6 separate regions of the Homo sapiens genome follow, and regions 1, 2, 4, 5 and 6 are each linked to region 3. Evidence: promoter capture Hi-C in 16 types of primary human blood cells and fetal thymus (Javierre and others, 2016). All regions are on one chromosome and are shown on one strand. Each heading gives the region's core, a stretch centred on a gene start or on the middle of the fragment in contact. The rest is flanking DNA. Distances are from core to core; before and after follow the strand shown.

What was found. The method cuts DNA at HindIII sites, captures the fragments that hold promoters and counts their contacts. A CHiCAGO score of 5 or more calls a contact.
Region 1: a contact is called between a fragment that was not itself captured here and the fragment with the promoter of IPO8 in region 3, in 1 of 17 cell types (naive B cells). The highest score is 5.0, in naive B cells.
Region 2: a contact is called between a fragment that was not itself captured here and the fragment with the promoter of IPO8 in region 3, in 1 of 17 cell types (total B cells). The highest score is 6.0, in total B cells.
Region 4: the fragment with the promoter of KLHL42 here is called in contact with the fragment with the promoter of IPO8 in region 3 in 2 of 17 cell types (M0 macrophages and M1 macrophages); the score reaches 7.1 in M0 macrophages.
Region 5: a fragment that was not itself captured here is called in contact with the fragment with the promoter of IPO8 in region 3 in 2 of 17 cell types (activated CD4 T cells and total B cells); the score reaches 5.1 in activated CD4 T cells.
Region 6: a fragment that was not itself captured here is called in contact with the fragment with the promoter of IPO8 in region 3 in 2 of 17 cell types (total B cells and naive B cells); the score reaches 6.2 in total B cells.

What each region holds. Positions count from the first base shown.
Region 1 is chr12:28,186,507-28,189,206 of GRCh38, reverse strand. It overlaps LOC729291 (a long non-coding RNA gene), which reads left to right. Exons shown (of 1, transcript NR_148936.1): 1 at 1-2,700. Among named protein-coding and RNA genes, the nearest start is that of CCDC91, 2.6 kb to the left of the region's middle. The HindIII fragment of the contact is 3,286 bases long and covers 1-2,700 here.
Region 2 is chr12:32,760,409-32,763,108 of GRCh38, reverse strand. No RefSeq gene overlaps it. Among named protein-coding and RNA genes, the nearest start is that of YARS2, 5.9 kb to the right of the region's middle. The HindIII fragment of the contact is 1,074 bases long and covers 738-1,811 here.
Region 3 is chr12:30,694,534-30,697,233 of GRCh38, reverse strand. IPO8 (importin 8) reads left to right here and starts at 1,365. Exons shown (of 25, transcript NM_006390.4): 1 at 1,365-1,670. The coding sequence starts at 1,587. RefSeq lists an enhancer at 976-1,475 and a silencer at 1,566-1,615. The HindIII fragment of the contact is 4,530 bases long and covers 1-2,700 here.
Region 4 is chr12:27,778,802-27,781,501 of GRCh38, reverse strand. It overlaps KLHL42 (kelch like family member 42), which reads right to left and starts at 1,269. Exons shown (of 3, transcript NM_020782.2): 1 at 300-1,269. The coding sequence starts at 1,171. MANSC4 (MANSC domain containing 4) reads left to right here and starts at 1,266. Exons shown (of 4, transcript NM_001146221.5): 1 at 1,266-1,292. RefSeq lists an enhancer at 753-1,252 and silencers at 1,118-1,427, 1,448-1,667. The HindIII fragment of the contact is 8,648 bases long and covers 1-2,700 here.
Region 5 is chr12:32,741,603-32,744,302 of GRCh38, reverse strand. It overlaps DNM1L (dynamin 1 like), which reads right to left. Exons shown (of 20, transcript NM_012062.5): 19 at 1,555-1,714; 20 at 1-949. The coding sequence ends at 893. Among named protein-coding and RNA genes, the nearest start is that of YARS2, 13 kb to the left of the region's middle. The HindIII fragment of the contact is 8,280 bases long and covers 1-2,700 here.
Region 6 is chr12:27,713,112-27,715,811 of GRCh38, reverse strand. MRPS35 (mitochondrial ribosomal protein S35) reads right to left here. Exons shown (of 8, transcript NM_021821.4): 2 at 992-1,032. Among named protein-coding and RNA genes, the nearest start is that of MRPS35, 3.6 kb to the right of the region's middle. The HindIII fragment of the contact is 6,666 bases long and covers 1-2,700 here.

The DNA.
Region 1 (2,700 bases), core at 90-2,589, 2.5 Mb after region 3:
ACATTTCTATTGTAAGAAATGTAATGCTTTCTTACACATATTTTTTTATCTGTCTACTAGACTACCAAGTCAAGGACCACTTCTCACTTGTATATCCAGCAATCTACTCACTTCTCATTTGTCTTTGTGTATCCAGCAGTCTAGCAAAGTGTCTAGTAGTTAGAAAAAAGGTATTCATAAATATTTCTTAAACTTAGTAAGGTTACCTTTATATTATTTTGTCTCTCATATCTCTTTCTGCTGGAAACCAGATTAGTTTCTGGGAGTTCCTTCCCATTGATGTACTTACATGTTCACTCTGTCCCGATATTCAATACTAAACTGTATTCCATACTAAACAGATTTATAATAAGTAACTAATATTTATTATTAATATTTGCTATGTGCCTGGCATTAGATTAAATATTTTAAATCCCATATATAACTTACCACAATAATTTTACAAAGTAGGTATATTAATATATTTACACTTTAGATGAGGTTACAGATTTAGGAAGTGTAAATTGACCAAGTGGATTTAAAGCCAGATCTGCCCAACAGAAGGGCTTGTTTATTCACTATAGCACATCACTTTGCTTTTTATATCACTTATTTATCAGTGAATTCAAATCCTACCAACTCCATGAAATCTTTCTTCCTTCCCCACAGTAATCTTTTTCTTTATAAACAATTCAGTGATTTTAGTATATTCACAGAGTTATGCATGCTTTACCACATTCGATTTTAGAGTATTTTCACAGCCCCAAAAAGAAACCCCATACCCTTTGGCCCCAACTTCTCCCTCCTCTCCCCAGCCCTAGGCAACCAGTAATCCACTTTCCGTCTGTATGCATTTGTCTATCTTGAACATTTCATATAAATGGAATCATGCAATGTGTGGTCTTTTGTGACTGGCTTCTTTCACTTAACATGTTTTCAAAGTCCCTTCATCGGTTGGGTTGTTTCAGCTTTTTGAATATTATGAATAATGCTCCTGTTGACATTCATGTACAAGTTTTCGTGTCAACATATGTTCTCATTTCTCTTGGATATATACCTAAGAGTGGAATTGCGGGGTCATATGGTAACTCTATGTTTAACCCCTTGTGGAACTACCACACTGTTTTCCAAAGTGGCTGTACCATTTTACTTTCTCACCAGCAATGTATGAGGGCTCTAATTTCTCTATTGTGCCTTTTCTTGTCTCTCTAGAACATGTGCCTCTCTTACTTTTCAGAATACTTTTTCCATGAGCCATCTTCAATTATTATTCTTTGTTGTACATGTATCTGCAAGCCCATTTTCCTAATAGTTTGTGACCTTCTGAGATGAAAAACATGGTGCCTGCCCTTAAGAGAATCACATCTAGAAAAATATACAATCAAATCAGATATTACAGTGATAATAAACACTGAAATAAAGGTTATTGCTAAAAGGTGGAGAAAGAACACCTCACTCAGCCTAGGTTAAACAGGAAGTACTTCTCATAGAATGTATCAAAGCTCAGGATTAGTCCTGAAGAATCTATTGGAATTGACCAAGCTAAGGAAAGACATGAGTATGCTCCAGAAAAAGGAACATATACCTTTGTATATATTTCCTTGTCTATGAACTGTGGAGGTAAGTATATTTTGCAGGTAAGCATACCATAGAAGCAAACATTGTGGTATGCAGGTATGCAGCAGGAGAAATGGGAAATGTAGATGTAAGATGATGAAGAGTTTTGTAAACTGTGTTAAGGAGTTTGAACTGTATCCTGAAGGTAATGGGAAATTGCTGAATTAGTTAAGCAAGGTTGGAGAAGAATTACTTCAGCAGCAGTATAGAGGAAGGATTATTGGGTAGGAGAGACGGGGCCAAGACTAGAAAAACAAACAAACCAGATAGAAGACATAAAATAACTAAAATGAGGAATTAATGACTGCCTGAGCCGAGATGGTACCCATGAAATTGGCAGAAAGGATTTTAAAGGCACATGGCCAACAAAAAAGGAGGAAAGAAGCCAGTCACGGTGGCTTATACGTGTAACCCCAGCAATGTGGGAGGCTGAGGTAGGAGGATCACTGGAGCCTGGGAGGTGGAGGCTGCAGTGAGCTGTGATTGTGCCACTGCATTCCAGCTGGATGACAGAGCAAGACCCTTTCAAAAAAAAAAAAAAAAGGAGGAGTAAGAAGAAGAAGAAAGAATTGAAGATATATTCCAGGTTTCTGGCTGTAGTCATCAAGAGGAAGATTGGGCACTTGGTGATAAGAATAATGAAACACTACAATGATGGTATCTTAGTTTGTTCAGGCTGCTATAGAAAAATACTGGGTAGCTTATGAATGCAAATTTATTTCTCACAGGTCTGGAGTCTAAGAAGTTCAAGATTAAGACACCAGCAGATTGGATGTCTAGTGGGGCCCTGCTTTCTGGGTCATAGATTGTGCCTTCTAGCTGTGTCCTCATGTGGTGGAAGAGACAGGGCGGCTCTCTGGAGCCTCTTTTATAAGGGCAGTAATCCTAGTCATGAGGCTTGTGTCCTCATGATTTAATCACCTCCCAAAGGCCCCACCTCCTAACGCTATCTCATTGGTGATTAAGTTTAACATATGAATTGTGGGGGGACAAAAACATTCAGACCACAGCAGATAGGTTGCAGGAATTTAAACTGCCATTGAAGTTTATGTGCTGTTGCAGTCACCCACAGAAATGAGATGAACCCTCACCCAAACTTTGGCT
Region 2 (2,700 bases), core at 25-2,524, 2.1 Mb before region 3:
CCTGGCTAATTTTTTGTATTGTTAGTAGAGACAGGGTTTCACCGTGTTAGCCAGGATGGTCTCGATCTCCTGACCACGTCGTGATTTGCCTGCCTCGGCCTCCCAAAATGCTGGGATTACAGGCATGAGCCACCGCGCCAAGCCCAGCCCATTTACTTCTAAAATGAGGACACCAAGGCTAGTGTGTTAAATGACTTATCTAAGGAGGAACAGGTAGTCAAGGTTAAGCTGAGATAGCTACTCATGTCTGTGACTCCTAGTCCCATGGTCTTTGGACCACGACTCAGAAGCACATTTTGTTATGGTTGTGAGGATGAAGGAAGTAATATTTGACTTTTCTGCAAACATTATGTAAATACAAGGTATTTGTTCCCCTTATGATGTTACAGAACATTAATGAGTGAGATGTTTCCAGACTTATTTCTCATTTTGGTAACTAACCAGTCAGTGCTTATAACAGAAAAACATAAAGTCCGTATTGAAGACACTGAGAAAAAAAGACAAAAATAGTTTTAATCAAAATAGAATTGCTCTACAAAACATAGAATGATTGCTTATTGTTTTGTTTCTTCTCCAATGGAGATATAAATTCACTTGGCCTTGATGGAGGGACAATGATGAGTTGATTGATTCACTTCTACTCTGTCAGAGAGACCAGAAAATTACTAAGGTAACTTGATAAATAGGAAAATTCCAAAATGATCTTCACTGAAGACATTATCCATTTGATCTAAGCTTTTCAGATGCAATCACAATAGTGTCTCCAAGATCCTCTTTCTAAGAGGGAAGCCTGCTTTTCTCATCACATTAGCAAACAGCCAGGCGGATTCGTTGCTTGCCAGTCATGGCTGAATTACAGTCCCGACAACATGGCCTGGGAAAGAACATGCTGGTAGGGGACTGCGGCGGCTATCACCAAGCTCAGAGCAGAAGGGGTGGATGTTGGGGAAAGGGTTCTGCGAGGAGAAAAATTCACTGCAGCAGGAGTGAAGGGAGACACAATTACATATTGAAAGGGGAAAAGCTGTTTGAATTCTACTCTACACCTCAATCACCACCCTCCTACAAGGGATGTCTTTCCCTTGGTCATATTCTCAACAAATGTTTCTCTCCCACAGCCCCCTCCTAATCTGCATGTTCTTCAACAGCTACCTAGGAGTCACTCTCTCTCTGCTCCAAAAATTGGGCGTGGAAAAGGAGCCCAATCAGAAAGAGGAAATGAAGAAAGAGGAAGTGAAGAATAAAACTGCTCAGAGAAAAATAACTTCATAGAATAATATTATCTCCATGAGGACAGGAATCTTTCTTTCATCCATGAATATATCCTAAGCCATTAGAACAGTGCCTGACTGATCAAATAATTCTAATAAATATCTGTTAAATGAATAAGCAAACATCTATGTCCTTAACCCACTAGAATGGTAGGAAATTGTTTCTCCATCATTATTAGCCTCCTTCCCGCTTCTAGGGTTTTACCAAAATTTGATCAACGTGCCCCAGGAAATAATATCTCTAATTTCCAATTGGTTCTGATCATTCTAGCCATCCTTGTTGGCCAAGCCTTCAGTGGTTCTCTGAGACCTCCAGCTGGCACTCAGGGGCTCTCCTGCCTCAAATGAAGCAGAGGAACCTTAGGCAAAGCCAGGAGCCCCAGGCTGGAAGTGTAGCAGGAGGTCGTCCCTTTGAGGCCAGGGAGCAATGCACAGCTCCTCTGGCAAACCAGGGCCATAGCCAGGGCTCCCTTGCCCAGGTTTGGGGCAGGGGCACTCTCTTTAAGCTGGAGAATCCTACCTCTTTCTCTTCTCTAAGCTTATTTCCTTAAACTTCATCCTATCTTAGGCTTTTGACTTTTGGAAACAAAAGTTACAAAGAGTTCCAGGATGACTCTGTATTCCTCCCCGACTTGTACTTTCCCCAAGGCACTGACACACAGAACTTGCTACAAATGGACAGTTAAAATGAAGAGAGGAAAATGAAAGATTTTTTATTTCTTTGTTTTTTTGAGACGGAGTCTCACTCTGTCACCCAGGCTGGAGTGCAATGGCGTGGTCTCAGCTCACTGCAACCTCTGCCTTCCGGGTTCAAGCGACTCTCCCGCCTCAGCCTCCTGAGTAGATGGGACTACAGGCGTGTGCCACCACACCTGGCTAATTTTTGTATTTTTGGAAGAGACGGGTTTTCACTATGTTGGCCAGGCTGGTCTCGAACTCCTGACCTCGTGATCTGCCCACCTCGGCCTCCCAAAGTGCTGGGATTACAGGCGTGAGCCACCGCACCCGGCCTGGAAAATGAAAGATTTTTAAACCCATAAATATCTCAAAACATTATCCAGCCATATGGTATGGGACCAGGTGCATAAAGTTAAGGCAATGCTGAGACCTCCAGGTTATTCCACTGGCTACAACAGCAGCCTAAAAGAAAGAAAGAAAGAAACTTGGGGTATCCTTCTCTAAACTCTAATATAGAAAGGAAATGCATATCTAGTAACATGTTTCTTTGTCTAATTATCCTCCTACAATCAGCATCTTAAAATAAGCTAATCTCTTATAAAAAATTTTTGGATGTTAATATGACCATCAGCTCAAAAAGCATTAAAGCCACTTCAATCAAGGGACACAGACTAGGTTTCAAGACACTTAGCTCACATAAATTTCTATAAATTTTAATAGAACTTAATGGTCTTTCCATTTTTTTGTGTGG
Region 3 (2,700 bases), core at 116-2,615:
TCCCCCTCACAGGGCGTGCATTGGGGGTGTGGCTCGCTTCTTCAGTGCCCCGCTGCTCAGACCTCTAGAGAAGCATACAGACCGGCAGGCTGTGGGGCTCCGACCCCTTGACAGAGTCTGGGGGTGAATGTTTACAGCTCCTGAAGCCCCAGTGGGTGTGTGTTACAGGATGCTCTTTCAGTTTGCCTTTAGGGGGCTTGTGTTAACCAGCTCAATTAGACCCTCTACCTTGTCGCACAGACAGCGAGCTTTCTGTATCCTGGGTTCTTGCCTTGGTGTACCAGAAGAATTGGATCACACGTGGGCTTGGAGAATGAGTGCAAAGTTTTATTGAGTGGAAGTAGCCCTCAGCAGATGAGGGACCCAGAAGGGAAATGGTTTTCCTCTGGAGTTAGGCCGCTTGGCGGCCCGGGCTCTTTTCCGACTGCCCAGGCCAACCTCCGCATCGTTCTGCCCGTGAATGGCCTGCGGATGTGCCAGCGAGCTCCTCTTCTTCCACCCTTATGCTCCTCTGGACGTCTGGCTGCCTGTGTACCTGCCTGCTAGGGTCTGGGGTTTTCATAGGCACAGTATGGGGGAGTGGCAGGCCAGGGTGGTCTTGGGAAATGCAACATTTGGGCTGGAAGGCAGGAGTGTCAGTCCTCACCTAGGTCGGTGGGCGTGGAGCCCTAGCAAGGGACCACACACTCCTCTACCCAGCACTTCACTTCGCCCATCCCTATCATTTAAAGGGACCACGCTCTTCCCTTCCCAGCACTCCCCTATCATTTCTACACTGTAAATTTTTTTTGTTTATATTTGTCTCATCTATCAGGTTGTGAATTCCTTCACATTAACTTGCATGGAATTCATCTTGTTATAATGTGGTACCTAAAAATCCTAGTACTCTGGTTCAAAAATATATGTTTAACAAATGTTCAGTGAAAGCGAATGAATGAATGAACGATGACTCCCACACACGGAGGAACCCTGTCCTCCTGTAAGGTACATGATTTGAAGGTCCCAACAAGTCTATCTTGGAACAGGCCCAGTTGCGATGCCCATACAGTTCTCGGACTAACAAAAAGTGTCACACCATCCAGATATGCTTAATTTGGAAGCAGCTGTAAGCAGACTCCCGGCCAGCTCAAGTTTCCTCACCTGGGAAGAGGCGGGAGGCTGTTTACCGTACGGAAGCATAGCGGCCGCCTGCCTGAGTTCGGGAGCGCGGGTTCCTTTCCGGGAAAGAAGCCTAGGCCGTTTTCCGTACAGCAGCATGGCGGCCGCCGACGGGAGGCGGTCATAGCATCACGCCCGGGGGAAGAGGCCGCCGTAAAGGAAGCTCTGCTTCCTCTTCTTCCTTCTCCCGCCTCCCACCGGCTGTCGTAAAACGGTGAATGGAGAGCGAGTTGTGGGGGGGAAAAAGGGAGGACAGGGGGCGCGGAGTCAGAGTGGCGCAGCAAGTGGCCGCAGGTGGCGACGGTGGCGGGGGGTGGGGTGTGAGGTAATCCAGGGGTCGCGGAAGAGGAGGCTGAGAGGGTCAAAAGAAAACTAAAGCTGCAGTCCGGCCTACTGTTCCGGGGGCCGCGGAGCCCCCACCCGGGGAGATGGACCTCAACCGGATCATCCAGGCGCTGAAGGGCACCATCGACCCGAAGTTGCGGATTGCAGCCGAGAACGAGCTCAACCAGGTGAGGAGAGGGTCTTCGGCGACCCTCTTCCGCCGAAGGGGCGCCCCTGCCGGCTGGCCGGGCTCCCTCTCCCCGGCGCCCCTCGTCCTCACCCCCACCGGGCTGGGGCTGACGCCTCACGGCTGGTCCCGCTCTCCGACCCCGCTGCCCCCCGGTCCAGTGGAGCAGGGCTCCCAGGATCTTTGCCGAACAGCTCGCGCACCTGTTGGCCACCTTTGCACCTTTTCGTGTCGTCTCCCTTCTCCAGGGCAGTTTGTTCTGCCTACTTGGTCCGCAAGAAGCAGTTTTTGCAACCTGTGCTAGTGTTTTCAGGGTGTGATTTATTTTCCTTAAGTGCGCGGACTTGGGGAGCAGGTGGGAATTTTACTTACAGTTCAAATCTGAGTTCAGCTTTTTTCCAAACCCAGCCCTTTTTAGGTGTTGCTGTGGAGCACGCTGCCCACCGCCTCCTCCTGTCGGGTTGGCAGGACTGTTTTGACACCGATTGGCCGAGTTTTGCGGAGCGCTGGGCAGTGCTGTTGGGAGAGTGCTCTGGGAAGAATAGGCAGTTTTCATGGTGATACTGCTTTATCTAAGACACATCAAAGTAAGATGTGTTGGAGAAATTTCTTATGAATGCTAAAATGTGTAAGACTTCTTTCTTTTCTCCGTCTCCTGTTCTTCCTAATTAGCCTTGACGTCTTTCCAGCGTTACCCCCACACTTCAAAATTTTAATGATCCCAAACTCCAGCTTATTTCTTCTTCCCTACCGGTACTTAAGAATCACAGACCTCTTACTAAAAAGTAGGGATTAAGAGCTACCACTGGGATGGAGCAACAGCTGTTTTAGGTTGTGATGACTTGTAAAATGTAAATATTCCAAAATCAGCTGTTCTCAAAGCGTTGCCCAGGACCTGGAGCTTCAGCATCACCTGAGAACTTACAAATTATGCAAATTACGGGGCTTCAGTCCAGACTTAACGAATCAGAAACTGTGGGGGTGGGACCAGTTGTATTTTAACTAGCTCCCCCAGGTGATTCTGTGCCTCC
Region 4 (2,700 bases), core at 20-2,519, 2.9 Mb after region 3:
CTTGTAGGAAACCACAACATCTTTTTTCACAAGAACAGAGGCAAAGAAAGCAGTTTCACCTAAAGGCACAATACCTGCCAAAAAACCACTCCACTTCTTGACCTCACTGGGGACGTCCTCTTCGCAATTTCTTAGTTCATTGGGAATTTTGCCAGCGCCAAGGCCAACAACATTCCTGAAGATGTCATTTCCACCACAGCACACCCTCCCCTATTTACTGGCTCAGTAAACACTGGGGTAATGAACTAATGAACAAGTGAATGAATGAGAAGGCAGCAGCACTCTGCCGGGGTGCTTACCTCTTCTGGTTCATGGAGGCCACCTGGAGCCACTCGTTGGTGCTGGGGTTGTAGGAATGCGCAGCGGAGATCTCCTGGCTAGTGATCCTGTACCCGCCCACTATGAAGAGGTAGTTGTCCAGGATGGCAGACCCATAGCCCCTGACATTGACCAGGTCGGGAGGAAGGTTGTTGGCCAGCGGGAACCAACGCTCAGTCATCTCCTCGTACCTGAGCATGGACGGGGGCTCCCCCTGGTAGGGGTGAGGGGCCAGGGGTCCCCCCAGGAAGTCCCCGAGGGCCACGAGGACAGGAGTCCCAGTCATCCGGGCCTCCCTCAGCCTCTGCTTCAGGCTGACATCCCCTGGAGCTTGGGGAGGAGACCCCAGGAGGTGGAACTGGGGCTTGCACAGCACCTCGTGGAAGTGGACGACCATGAAGCGCAGGCAGGCCTCCTGCAGGTCGGGCAGCCCGTACACCTGCGCCAGGCGGTACATCTCCAGGCAGTTATTGAGCCGCACCTGGGACAGCAGCAGCTGCAGCAGGGACGTGACCTGCAGGAAGGAGGCCGCCTCCACCAGCTCGGACAGCAGGCTCACCTCATCCATCTCCTCGTCCTCGTCCACCCCGCCGCCCTTTTCCCCGCGCGGGCCCAGGAGCCAGCCTTCGCGGGCCCCGCCGGCGTTGATGAAGTCCAGCACCAGCCGCAGGCCCGGCGCGCTGAGGCCGCGCAGCTGCTGCACCTCCGGGCCGCCGGCCTCCTGGCTCAGGGCCTCGCGCATGCCGGAGCGGTAGAGGGCGCGGAAGTAGTCGCTCTGCTCGATGAGCTTCCTCTTGCTCACCGGGTAGCAGCGGTCCTCCAGGCGGATCTGCACCATCTCCTCGGCCGACATGGCTGGGGGCCCCGGGGCGGCAGCGCTCACCGCCAGATCTGCGCGCCGGCCTCCCAGCCCCTACGCGCGCGCCGGTTCCGGGCGGGGCGCCGAGGGATGGCGGCCCGGGAGGAGCGGCGAGGTGAGGGCCGCCCGCGCTCGCCCGGCCTCTCCGGCGGCCCCTCCTCCCGGGGCCCGCTCCCGCGAGGCGGCGGCCCTGCCCTTCTCCTTTCCCTCAGCGCCAAAAAAGGGCCGGCGGAGCGCGGCGGGCGTCCTCGCGCGGGCTCTCCCGGGCGGCGCCAGGCGGGAAGGGAATTCCAGCTCCCAGCCAGCAGCCTCCTCCCCCGCCGCCCTTCTCACTTCCGCCCGCGGGACCCCAGCCGCCGGCCTGACCTGCCGGCTGGATCCGGCTCTCGGGGAGGCCCGGGAAGCTGCGGGCCCGGGCGCCTCGGCTGCGGACGCGCAGCTGCGGGAGGCGGAGGGCGCGCGTCCCCGCAGCCTCTCCGCCCGCCCGGGGCGCGCCGGCTCCGCCGCTTGTTGGGGGCTGCAGTGATGCTCCGGGGTACCCCAGGGAGAAGAAATTCGTTTTCTCTCCCACGCTGCTTTACACGGGCTAAAGAAAAAGAAATGAGCGTGGGAGGAAAGGGAAGGATGGAGTCTCTGGTCCAGGGAGACAAAAAGGCATCAAATATGGGGTCGTCCTTCTGGCCCAGTCCGGCATCGAGTGTCAGTGGGCTGAGGCACGCAGGCGATCTATGGACAGTTGGTGGCAATGTTGGTGGCACGTAGAGCTGATTCTCTGGTAGCGTGGTCGCGTAGGAGCCATCTTACAGGAGGTCCAGGCAGATGGCAGCAGGTTCTCAGAGGAATCGGGTTGGGAGGCAGGGGAGCTTGCATTTGCCACTGGGGCCCCTTATTCTCCCTAAGTTATTAAAAGAAAGATGAAAGCGCAGCCCGACTAAATAAAGTTACATCACGTGGCTTCTGGTTTTAAACCATGTTTTCTATGAGCCATTGCTTTTCTACTTCAGTCCAGTCCATTACGGAATGTTATCCTGGCGCAAAAGATCTGACAAAATTGGCTCATAAATGTCTGCAAGAAGTAGCTTTTCTTGTCACCCCCTTTCTCCACCTACCCTGCCCCCATCATCTGAGGACTATTAAGAGAGACCACACGTGCGGTTTGGCTGAGCGCGGTGGCTCACGCCTGTAATCCCATGACTTTGGGAAGCCCAGGTGGGCAGATCACGAGGTCAGGAGTTCGAGAGCACCATGGCCAACATGGTGAAACCCCGTCTCTACTAAAAATACAAAAATTAGCCGGGCGTGGTGGCACGCGCCTGTGATCCCAGCTACTCGGGAGGCTGAGGCAGGAGAATTGCTGGAACCCGGGAGGCGGAGGTTGCAGTGAGCCGAGATCGCGCCACTGCACTCCAGCCTGGGCGACAGAGCGAGACGCCGTCTCGGAAAAGAGAGACCACTTGTTTCCTATGTTCTCTCACTGAACATTGCAATTAGAAGGCCCACCCCAAATAATAATAGGAAGGACT
Region 5 (2,700 bases), core at 201-2,700, 2.0 Mb before region 3:
CACCTCAAAGTGAATCTTAGAGCCTGGTGTAAGTGCTCCACTTTAGAGATGTACCTTAATTACTACTGTATTTGCAAATTAAGGGAAATTTAGGTCATCATTTGATTTTCTGAAATCTAAAAGGAACTGACCATCATTACCAAGTCTTTCTAGATAATCAAGGGTAGATGGCTGTTTTTAATGTAGGAATTAATGTAGGCATTCCTGCTTTCAGGTTTAAGTATGAATCAAAGCATATTTTAATTTGCTAGTGCAAATGGACCCAGAATTGGAAGGGCTATGTAACTACACAGTATGCACACCACAGCCATGTCAGTGTCACAGATCCTCTTGTGCATTCAGCTTTCTTAAAAACACATCAAAGGCTGCAAAGAAGCTCAGAAAAAACTAAATTGAAGGACAGGTGGAATACAATGACTCTATGTGAGGAACTTGCCAACTCACATCTTTCAAAGCCAGATCAGCTTATATAGTACATGCATTATAGTCATATGAAATGTTGTCTTGGTGCTTTCTTCTTGGAGGACTATGGCAGCAGCTTTAAGACTACTAACAAAGATTATTACACAGGTCATCTTATCCACAGGCAAACTGCTTTGCACAACTAGAACATTAACAGTTGTTTTTAAGTTAAGTTCAGATGAAACTGTCACAAGACAGACTTGATGTATTTTATATATACTGGGAAACTTTAGAAACAGCCATTTATTATTTGGATTAAATGTGTGATGTGTTCTGCAATTTGGAATACACTTTTCAGTTTATAGCCAGTCTCCACATGAGCAGATTCATACCATTGCAATACACAGGAGTTCATAAATAAGATTCTACTCAGGTAGGCAGTAACTAGCAAGTTTTGAGTCAACAAAGTCTCAGTATTACATAGTTCTCTTCACCAAAGATGAGTCTCCCGGATTTCAGCAATAATTTGACTGGCTCCTTGTAATGCCTGCATTAAAGGAAAAAAAATTTTAAATGCTTATTATAAAGTTATGAAATTAATCTGAATTACGCAGGGTAATTTTTCCAATATATATGTGGTAGGTTTATAACTAACCAGTTTATACTAACCAATATCTTCTCTGGAATTAGAATCTAATCAAGTACCGGCCAGGCGCAGTGGCTCATGCCTGTAATCCCAGCACTTTGGGAGGTCGAGGCGGGCGGATCATGAGGTCAGGAGTTAGAGACTATCCTGGCTAACATGGTGAAACCCCGTCTCTACTAAAAATACAAAAAATTAGCTGGGTGTGGTGGTGGGCGCCTGTAGTCCCAGCTACTCGGGAGGCTGAGGCAGGAGAATGGCGTGAACCTGGGAGGCGGCGCTTGCAGTGAGCCGAGATTGTGCCACTGCACTCCAGCCTGGGCGACAGAGCCAGACTCCCACTCAAAAAAAAAAAAAAAAAAAAAAAAAGATTCTTATCAAGTACCAACAGGAAACAAGCCTAGCTAGAATATAAAGACTATACATATCCAAGAATCAAACTGCATTTAAAACTATTTCTATGTTTCTATCTACTACCCAAGTATAAAAAATCAAAAGGTCCACAATACCTTTAGCATATCAGCTGCTTCTTTCCTGCGCTGTGCCATGTCCTCAGATTCTGTCAGAAGATCATCCAATAAGGATGATTTATACAGCTGGCCTACTAGCTCACTCTGAAGAGTGTCTTTCACATGATTAACCAAAAAATGCATTACTGCCTTTGGCACACTGCAAAACACAACCAAATTATGGAATTTTAGCCAAAATTCTACTTTTAACAATTTGGGCTTAGATGCTAACCTCATGAAATAAAGTTAAGTAAGAACACTACTACTTTGGATATTTCATTAATGGCATAATCGCCCTTTAGATTTTTGCTTAACTGTAATTAAACATTAAGAAAAGCAGTTCTCGGCCAGGCGCAGTGGCTCATGCCTGTAATCCCAGCACTCTGGGAGGCTGACGCGGGTGGACTGCTTGAGGCCAGGAGTTTGACAGCAGCCTGGCCAACATGGTGAAACACCGTCTGCACTAAAAATAAAAAATTAGCTGAGTGTGGTGGCACATGCCTGTGATCCCAGCTACTCGGGAGGCTGAGATACGAGAATCACTTGAACCCAGGAGGTGGAGATTGCAGTGAGCCAAGAACGCGCCACTGCACTCCAGCCTGGGCAACAGAGTGAGACTGTGTCTCAAAAAAAAAAACAAAAGCAACAATTCTTGATACTTTACCTTCTTTTCATCATCTTTATTTCAAAACTCTTCAATAAGCATTTATTCATAATAGCCAAGAAGTGAGAAAAATCCAAACATCAGCTGATGAATGCTTAAACACAGTATATCTACATAATCTAGTATTATTCACACAAAAGATATGTCACTTAATGACACGGATATGCTTTGAGAAATGCATTATTAGGTGATTTCATTACATGCACAGCACAGAGTGTACTTACACAAACGTAGATGGTATAGCCTATGACACGCCTAAGCTATATGGGATAGCCTATTGCTCCAGGCTGCAAACATGTACAGCATGTTACTGTACTGAATAGGGAACTGTAACACAATAGTATTTGTGTATCTAAACATAGGAAATGTACAGCAAAAACATGGTATCATAATCTAACGGGAACACATTCAAATACGTGGTCTGTTGACTAAAATGTTATGTGGTGCGTGACTATACTGATTCATACTACAGTATGGATGAG
Region 6 (2,700 bases), core at 42-2,541, 3.0 Mb after region 3:
AAACTAGTACTTGATAGCTTAGTCAATCACATTAACATTTATTTTTAATGGCATCAAATACGAGGGGATGGCCCACATACAAAAGTAGGGTTTATAGTGGCAAAATTCAGCCATGCCCCGCCTACGCAATATCAAAACCAGTGTAGTCAATATCCTAGAAGCAGGTAATAGTCCTGAGGAAATGACTGCTCTTAATGATTGTAATTTGATACCATTTAACTTCCAACTAATGTGTCTTTGTTCTGACACTATTGCTCACCAACTGACCTTATCGTTTAGATTCCTCCATAGAAGTAAGGAATCCAAATGTCCACAGGGTGAGACTCAACTAGTTAGAATACGGCCAGGTGCCGTGGCTCATGCCTGTAATCCCAGCACTTTGGGAGGCCAGGTGCAGTAGCTCACGCCTGTAATCCCAGCACTGAGGCGGGTGGATCACCTGAGGTCAGGAATTCAAGACCAGCCTGACCAACATGGTGAAAACCTCTCTCTACTAAAAACACAAAAAATTAGCCAGGCATGGAGGTGTGTGCCTGTAGTCCCAGCTACTTGGGAGGCTGAGGCAGGAGAACCACTTGAACCCGGGAGGCAGAGGTACCAGTGAGCCAAGACTGCACCACTGCACTCCAGCTGGGCAACAAGTGGGAAACTCTATCTCAAATAAATAATAATAAATAAATAAACAAACTAGTTATATTAATGCATAAGTCCCAGGCTGCAGGACTTAAGATAGCATTAGAAATTGTTCCATATTCTGGTTTATACACCTGTTTCCTGGGAGTTCCTCAGTAAGTCAACCTCTCAAAGATCATCTATTCTCTGGGTACTGACAAAAAACAAAGACTAACCTCTGCCAGGGCTATGGCAATCACCCAGTAAACATGACCTTGTGAAGTCTTCTCTGGTAACACCCTTCTGCCTTATAATGAATATCTGCCTCATTTTAGAACTCCAGAAACCATTAAGATAGTAGAGTATACGAACTTTTTACCTTTCTTCTTGGTGGCCTTTCATTTCCGGGTGTTCTTTCCGCTGTACGTAAAAGATAACACAGTAGTTAAAGAGAATTTTATCATGTCAAGTTAGTTGTTCAACATCAATCATGATCCCATTATTCTAACACAATTTAAGGTATTTAGTAACATAACAATGAAACAATCTTTTTTTTTTTTTTTTTGGTAAGCTCAGGGACCAAAATCATCTTAATGAAGACTAAAAACTGGAAACAGAGGGAGTCTCGGCGTATCACCCAGATTGGATTGCAGTGGTGTGATCTCGGCTCACTGCAACCTCTACCTCCGGAGTTCAAGTGATTCTCCTGCCTCAGCCTCCCAAGTAGCTGCGACTACCAGTACACCCCACCACACCTGGCTAATTTTTGTATTTTTAGTAGAGATAGAGTTTCACCATGTTGGCCAGGCTGGTCTCAAACTGCTGACCTGAAGTGATCCGCCTGCCTCAGTCTCCCAAAGTGCGGTGGGCAGGTGTGAGCCACTGTGCCTAGCCCCAGTAAGGAAAATTCTACAGTTATTTGAATTGCAGATACAGTGAATTCATTATCTAAAAAATGACTCTTACAGAGTCTGTCAAGTAAGACAACTTTTTAACAAATAATTTCAATAAACAGTGATAAATATTATGAACACATATAGCAGGGAACGAAACCTAGTCAATTAGTTTGTATGACGGTGAATTTTTTCTTTTTTCTCTTTCTTTCTTTTTTTTTTTTTTTTTTTGAGACAAGGTCATCTCACTCTCGCCCAGGCTGGATTGCAGTGGTGCAATCTCGGCTTACTGCAGCCTCGAACTACCAGGTTCAAGCCAATCCTTCTACCTCAGCACCCCAAGTAGCTAGGACTAAAGACATGAGCACACCCGGCTAATTCTTGTAGAGACGGTGTTTCGCCATGTTGCCAGGCTGGTCTCAAGCTCTTGAGCTCCAGCGATCCACCCACCTCAGCCTCCCAAAGTGCTGGGATTACAGGGGTGAGTCACTGTGCCCAGCCATGATAGTTAACTTTGTGTCAATTTGACTGGATTGAGGAATACATAGACATGTGGTAAAGCATTATTTCTGGGCATGTCTGTGGGGATGTTTCCAGGAGAGACAGGCATTTGAGTCAGTGGACTGAGTGAGGAATACCTGCTCTCAATGTGGGTGGGCATCATCCAATCAGCTGAGGGCACAGAAAGAACAAAAAGGCAGATGAAAGAAGAATATATTCTCTCTCTCTCTCTTCTGGACCTGGGACACTCTTCCCCTGCCCTTGGACATCAGAACTCCAGGTGCTCCAGCCTTTGGACTCCAGGAACTTGTACACGCAGCCCCCTGAGTTCTTAGGCCTTCAGCCTTGGCCTGAAAATTACATGGCTTCTGTGGTTCTGAGGTTTCTGAACTTGGACTGACATGGGCTTCCAGCTTGCAGACAGCCTATTGTGGGGTGAGTCAATTCCCCTAAAAAATCCCATCATATGTCTATATATCTACATCTACATCTATCCTATCCTACATCTACGTTCTGTCTCTCTGGAAAACTCTAATCAGTTGGGGAAAATCTCCCTGAGAAAGTGAACTTTAAGCTAAAACCTGAAAGATGAGCAGGACGTAGCCATGAAGACAAGCAGGTGAGAAAAAGTGTTTTGACAGAGTGAGAGCACATGGAAAATCAAAGTGAACAAATTCAATATGGCTGAAATTTA